Regions from separate parts of the Homo sapiens genome. Here region 1 is linked to region 2. Evidence: promoter capture Hi-C in human tissues and cell types (Jung and others, 2019). All regions are on one chromosome and are shown on one strand. Each heading gives the region's core, a stretch centred on a gene start or on the middle of the fragment in contact. The rest is flanking DNA. Distances are from core to core; before and after follow the strand shown.

Region 1 (3,335 bases), core at 159-2,658, 1.2 Mb after region 2:
CCACATATACCAACATTTCCCTTCCTCACTTATTCTTCCTATTTCCTTTCCCTCCTCTAACTTTATAAATTCTAGATCAAGCTCCCATCTATACATAAAGCTTTCTTTGACTTTTTACACTCTCTCAATATTCCCTTGGGCTTAATATAGATGGAAAGAAATACCTTGTATTTTCTTTCCAAATTATTTCAGTTTTAATTATATAATTGATGCATATTTCCTTAAAGGTCTATATTATGACACCCTATTGAGGAAGCTGTTTATAGAGGTGATAGAAAGAACCTGGGCTTTGAGTCAAAAAACTGTGGTTCAAATCTTGCTTCTGCCCCTTGCTTGCCTTATAAACTCGAGCAAGCTATATAACCTGTCTGAATGTCAGTTTCTTCATCCTTAAAATGGTGGCTATAATACCAGATTCAGAGGAAAGATTAAATAAGATGAGGTATAGTATATGCTCTCTATCCCTTCCTCTCTAGGTTCATTTACCCCCAGCCCACCCCAACCATTTAATATTATTCCTTCTGTTCTGATGCAATAAGACCATTTCATGAAGATGTCTGAAATAGTTTGGAGATTTTACATGCATCTTTCTCAGATAGGTGAAGTTAAGTCAATTACCTTCCAACATTTATGCAACATCAAATTTAGTACAGAACTACAAAGAGCCATGTTAATTACAGTAGAAATTCGAGGCATATTTTCTTATTTTGGCAATTTAATAGTATAGCCTAGAAGTCAAACTAGCTAACACACTTTGAAAGAATTAGAAAATAGCTAAGGAACAAATTGTGCAATCCAGACACTTTGAAATTCAATAAAAATTAGGTAATCCAAGTGGTATAAAAACTGAAGAAGCTTTCAAGAAGAAACTTGGGTTGAATGTTTAAATATCTGTAAAGCTAAGATAGAAGGTTGAAGGAGGGGTGTTCCAGGTTGGTTGTGAGTAACATCAGTGAAGCCCACTGGAGGAGGAAAGGCATGACTTATGCAAAGACGTTGGAAAGATAAATCTGTAAGAATGAACATATGGGCCAACCAGAAGACAAAATGAAATTAGTCTGGTATAGTGGAGCCAGAGTAGGACAAACCAGGAAAAATTAGTAGTGTGTTATGTTGTTGCCAAGAGTAAACTATGTACTTGGGCAGAACAATGGCCTAAAGGATAGATACATGATAGAGGTAGCTTATTAGTCTCCCAGCTTTTGATTATTGTACAAAAGTATTTTGCATTTGTTATCGCCTTTTCTACTGTTCTATCCCCACACCCCAGATGCTGTAATACATTTCTTCTAGTCATTAATCAAACTGATATATGTAGCCTTTTAATAAACCTAAGAACTTCAATAAATAAGAATCTTTTGAAATAACTTTTTTAAAAAATAAAATAATTATTTGATAGCACAACAGGGTAACTGTAGTCAATAATAATTATACATTTTAAAGTAACTTAAATAGTGTAATTGGATTGTTTGCAACTCAATGGATAAATACTTGAGGGGATGGATACCCCATTCTCCATGATGTGCTTATTTCACATTGCATGCCTGTATCAAAACATCTCATGTACCTTATAATATATACACTTACTATGTACCCACAAAAATTAAAAATTAAAAACATAAATAAATAAGTCTTTAACATTTAGAGTTTATTAGTCCTTATTTCTTCTCTCCATCCCCTATACACAGAGGAAGAGAGTGGAGGAAGATGTGGGTAATTATATAAATCTATATCATGATGAAATATTACAATATGAAATAACTTGAAAAATCTTTGTATCATGATGATCTTTCTCATTTGGGATAAATTATATTTACAAGTTTATCATGCATATACATTGTATGTTTGCAAGTTAGATTTTATCTTTTTTATTTGTGAATGTGTCTTAAAGATGATTTTTTTTCAAATAACTATACATTCTAGATGGTAATAAGAGTTTATTTTAAAAGCACTTCTCATAATACAGATAGAGGGATTGAGGTTTGTACTTCTTTGAGAAATGTACTTTTGTCTCTCTAATATTGTTTGCTGAGGAGATCAGAAAGCCCTGGGCTGTAATTTACTCTTTTCTTTGTCCGTCATAAGGAGGGAGACCACTATTTCTTTTGAAATTTCTTGGCTTTTCTAACATATCTGAAAACAAAAGAAGGGGGAAATCTGCTTACTTACTTTGCCAAAATGAGAGTCAGATATTACTATGTATCGGCCAGAAGATAGACTTCACGGTAACAGTAGGAAAAAAACTGATTTATTGGTCAAAAGAGAGATGACACACACTGTTTTGTTTCATTGTCTTTTTCCTTTACTAAAACCTCTTTTATCTCTTCCTAAACTTGAGTCATGGTGACATTAAGACCTCCAGTTTGACTGCCAAATCTTTAAATGATCCCATTCATGCCATCCCAATGCTGTGTGGTAGGGGCAAGTTCAGTCCAGTGTTTCCAGGCTCTGAAGTTGGATTATATTGCTTTCCTTTTCCTGCTGTACAGCATGTGGGCAAGAACCCAAAAACTTAATGGAAATTTTTCTGTCTTAAATCTTCTGAAACTAGTTACCTTTGAGGTCAATGAACTCAATACCCAGAGGGAGAAAAAAAGGCTGATTACAGAATAACGGAAATGTTGTTACAATGGATATTTGCATACTGAGTAAACTTGCTCAGGGGATCCTATCTGACCAAAAACAGCCAAAATAACCAATATTGGGAGGGCTAAAGAAAAGAATAACATGCTCTATGCCTGACCTACAAAATTTGAACATGCACTATATTAGAAATAAACGTATAATGAATCTCTTTGAATTTAGATAGTTTCTGCTCCTAAAACTTTGAGAAATATAGATTTTGAGTTTTACCGTAAACCACTCTCAAGAGGAACATGAGACCATCACTATCCCTGGTGCTACAAAGGAAAACTCAAGAGAAATCTTAGGGAAGCGGAGGGAAAAAATCTGATTGTGACAATGAATATTGTGACTATAGGTAAAGCTGTTGAGTCTAATCTTTGAGGATTCGCCTTTTCCCAGTTCATTCCAACCCAACTTCTTCATTTCACCCCAAAGTCTCCCTCTCCAGACCTCACCTCTCTTGACCAACTCTGTCTTTCTCTTTCTTATGAGAATTACATGCCCAAGTCATGAGATTTTCATATTCTTTGGCAATTTTTAGATGATAACTCCCAGTACCAATTATTCTGTTGTAATCTCTTTCTGTTTTGAAGGCATTTTCTACGATGTCTAATACAATGCTATGCACTTAGTAGATATTCATTATTTTCTCAAAGACCACTAGGCTGATCTGTAAAATGCCAAAATAATTTGAGCTCTTAAAAGAACAT
Region 2 (3,466 bases), core at 324-2,823:
TCTGTTTTTGTTTTGTAAGATAAGAGTGAACACACCCTCTGCTTCCTCCCAATCCTTCTCCCTTCTCCTACCCAAAGATAATCCAAACAATATATTTCTCCCCCCACCCCCTTCCTGGGATGAATTCATTAGCAAGACAAAAAGTCCTTCCTATTATTATTTGGGGTGGGCCTTCTAATTGCAATGTTCAGTGAGAGAACATAGGAAACAAGTGGTCTCTCTTTTCCGAGACGGCGTCTCGCTCTGTCGCCCAGGCTGGAGTGCAGTGGCGCGATCTCGGCTCACTGCAACCTCCGCCTCCCGGGTTCCAGCAATTCTCCTGCCTCAGCCTCCCGAGTAGCTGGGATCACAGGCGCGTGCCACCACGCCCGGCTAATTTTTGTATTTTTAGTAGAGACGGGGTTTCACCATGTTGGCCATGGTGCTCTCGAACTCCTGACCTCGTGATCTGCCCACCTGGGCTTCCCAAAGTCATGGGATTACAGGCGTGAGCCACCGCGCTCAGCCAAACCGCACGTGTGGTCTCTCTTAATAGTCCTCAGATGATGGGGGCAGGGTAGGTGGAGAAAGGGGGTGACAAGAAAAGCTACTTCTTGCAGACATTTATGAGCCAATTTTGTCAGATCTTTTGCGCCAGGATAACATTCCGTAATGGACTGGACTGAAGTAGAAAAGCAATGGCTCATAGAAAACATGGTTTAAAACCAGAAGCCACGTGATGTAACTTTATTTAGTCGGGCTGCGCTTTCATCTTTCTTTTAATAACTTAGGGAGAATAAGGGGCCCCAGTGGCAAATGCAAGCTCCCCTGCCTCCCAACCCGATTCCTCTGAGAACCTGCTGCCATCTGCCTGGACCTCCTGTAAGATGGCTCCTACGCGACCACGCTACCAGAGAATCAGCTCTACGTGCCACCAACATTGCCACCAACTGTCCATAGATCGCCTGCGTGCCTCAGCCCACTGACACTCGATGCCGGACTGGGCCAGAAGGACGACCCCATATTTGATGCCTTTTTGTCTCCCTGGACCAGAGACTCCATCCTTCCCTTTCCTCCCACGCTCATTTCTTTTTCTTTAGCCCGTGTAAAGCAGCGTGGGAGAGAAAACGAATTTCTTCTCCCTGGGGTACCCCGGAGCATCACTGCAGCCCCCAACAAGCGGCGGAGCCGGCGCGCCCCGGGCGGGCGGAGAGGCTGCGGGGACGCGCGCCCTCCGCCTCCCGCAGCTGCGCGTCCGCAGCCGAGGCGCCCGGGCCCGCAGCTTCCCGGGCCTCCCCGAGAGCCGGATCCAGCCGGCAGGTCAGGCCGGCGGCTGGGGTCCCGCGGGCGGAAGTGAGAAGGGCGGCGGGGGAGGAGGCTGCTGGCTGGGAGCTGGAATTCCCTTCCCGCCTGGCGCCGCCCGGGAGAGCCCGCGCGAGGACGCCCGCCGCGCTCCGCCGGCCCTTTTTTGGCGCTGAGGGAAAGGAGAAGGGCAGGGCCGCCGCCTCGCGGGAGCGGGCCCCGGGAGGAGGGGCCGCCGGAGAGGCCGGGCGAGCGCGGGCGGCCCTCACCTCGCCGCTCCTCCCGGGCCGCCATCCCTCGGCGCCCCGCCCGGAACCGGCGCGCGCGTAGGGGCTGGGAGGCCGGCGCGCAGATCTGGCGGTGAGCGCTGCCGCCCCGGGGCCCCCAGCCATGTCGGCCGAGGAGATGGTGCAGATCCGCCTGGAGGACCGCTGCTACCCGGTGAGCAAGAGGAAGCTCATCGAGCAGAGCGACTACTTCCGCGCCCTCTACCGCTCCGGCATGCGCGAGGCCCTGAGCCAGGAGGCCGGCGGCCCGGAGGTGCAGCAGCTGCGCGGCCTCAGCGCGCCGGGCCTGCGGCTGGTGCTGGACTTCATCAACGCCGGCGGGGCCCGCGAAGGCTGGCTCCTGGGCCCGCGCGGGGAAAAGGGCGGCGGGGTGGACGAGGACGAGGAGATGGATGAGGTGAGCCTGCTGTCCGAGCTGGTGGAGGCGGCCTCCTTCCTGCAGGTCACGTCCCTGCTGCAGCTGCTGCTGTCCCAGGTGCGGCTCAATAACTGCCTGGAGATGTACCGCCTGGCGCAGGTGTACGGGCTGCCCGACCTGCAGGAGGCCTGCCTGCGCTTCATGGTCGTCCACTTCCACGAGGTGCTGTGCAAGCCCCAGTTCCACCTCCTGGGGTCTCCTCCCCAAGCTCCAGGGGATGTCAGCCTGAAGCAGAGGCTGAGGGAGGCCCGGATGACTGGGACTCCTGTCCTCGTGGCCCTCGGGGACTTCCTGGGGGGACCCCTGGCCCCTCACCCCTACCAGGGGGAGCCCCCGTCCATGCTCAGGTACGAGGAGATGACTGAGCGTTGGTTCCCGCTGGCCAACAACCTTCCTCCCGACCTGGTCAATGTCAGGGGCTATGGGTCTGCCATCCTGGACAACTACCTCTTCATAGTGGGCGGGTACAGGATCACTAGCCAGGAGATCTCCGCTGCGCATTCCTACAACCCCAGCACCAACGAGTGGCTCCAGGTGGCCTCCATGAACCAGAAGAGGTAAGCACCCCGGCAGAGTGCTGCTGCCTTCTCATTCATTCACTTGTTCATTAGTTCATTACCCCAGTGTTTACTGAGCCAGTAAATAGGGGAGGGTGTGCTGTGGTGGAAATGACATCTTCAGGAATGTTGTTGGCCTTGGCGCTGGCAAAATTCCCAATGAACTAAGAAATTGCGAAGAGGACGTCCCCAGTGAGGTCAAGAAGTGGAGTGGTTTTTTGGCAGGTATTGTGCCTTTAGGTGAAACTGCTTTCTTTGCCTCTGTTCTTGTGAAAAAAGATGTTGTGGTTTCCTACAAGAATACTTTAAAAGAAAATTGCCCCTTAATTTTTAAAAAATTTGTCTTAGTTTTTAGGATTTGATCCTGATGATAATGATACACTGGACAGTAACCTGTAACACTGACTTTGGGGGATTTTTTTCTGATGTCAGTGACTGTGACAACAGAGTCTTCCACACTGTGATACCCATCATGATCAAGAGATAATCACTGGAAATGTATTAACGTTTGCAATAGGGGTTGCTTTTCTTATTTTTTATCCTCTCTTTTGCTTCCTTCCCTGGACAGCCATCGTCATGACCCACAGCTTGAGCCTGGAAGTGTTCAACTACAGAATTGGAATATTTTCATTTACGCAACCTTCTCCCCCTCCCATCCTGCAAATCTCTCCTGCCTCCAACAAGGGTGACTTGAAGAAAGGAAGAGGAGGAGCTTGAGGAGTGGGATGAGAGGGGAGAAGGGAAAGGAACCAGGGAAGGAATATCAAAACAAGAGCAAAGAGCATATACAGGAAGAGATGGTAGGAAATAAAGATGGTAGCGCCTAGGAGGCCTCAGCGTCATTCAGAAGCAGGGAAAAGAATCAATGTAACTCAAGAAAGGATGAAAATACCCTTTCTTCCCATCCACGTGTTTCCATCTCA

What was found. Contacts are between HindIII fragments. The study calls those that stand out against the background at their distance.
Region 1: a fragment that was not itself captured here is called in contact with the fragment with the promoter of KLHL42 in region 2 in 1 of the 25 tissues and cell types used here (dorsolateral prefrontal cortex).

Annotation. Positions count from the first base shown.
Region 1 is chr12:28,959,692-28,963,026 of GRCh38, forward strand. No RefSeq gene overlaps it. Among named protein-coding and RNA genes, the nearest start is that of FAR2, 190 kb to the right of the region's middle. The HindIII fragment of the contact is 4,562 bases long and covers 1-3,335 here.
Region 2 is chr12:27,778,660-27,782,125 of GRCh38, forward strand. KLHL42 (kelch like family member 42) reads left to right here and starts at 1,574. Exons shown (of 3, transcript NM_020782.2): 1 at 1,574-2,543. The coding sequence starts at 1,672. It overlaps MANSC4 (MANSC domain containing 4), which reads right to left and starts at 1,577. Exons shown (of 4, transcript NM_001146221.5): 1 at 1,551-1,577. RefSeq lists silencers at 1,176-1,395, 1,416-1,725 and an enhancer at 1,591-2,090. The HindIII fragment of the contact is 9,315 bases long and covers 1-3,466 here.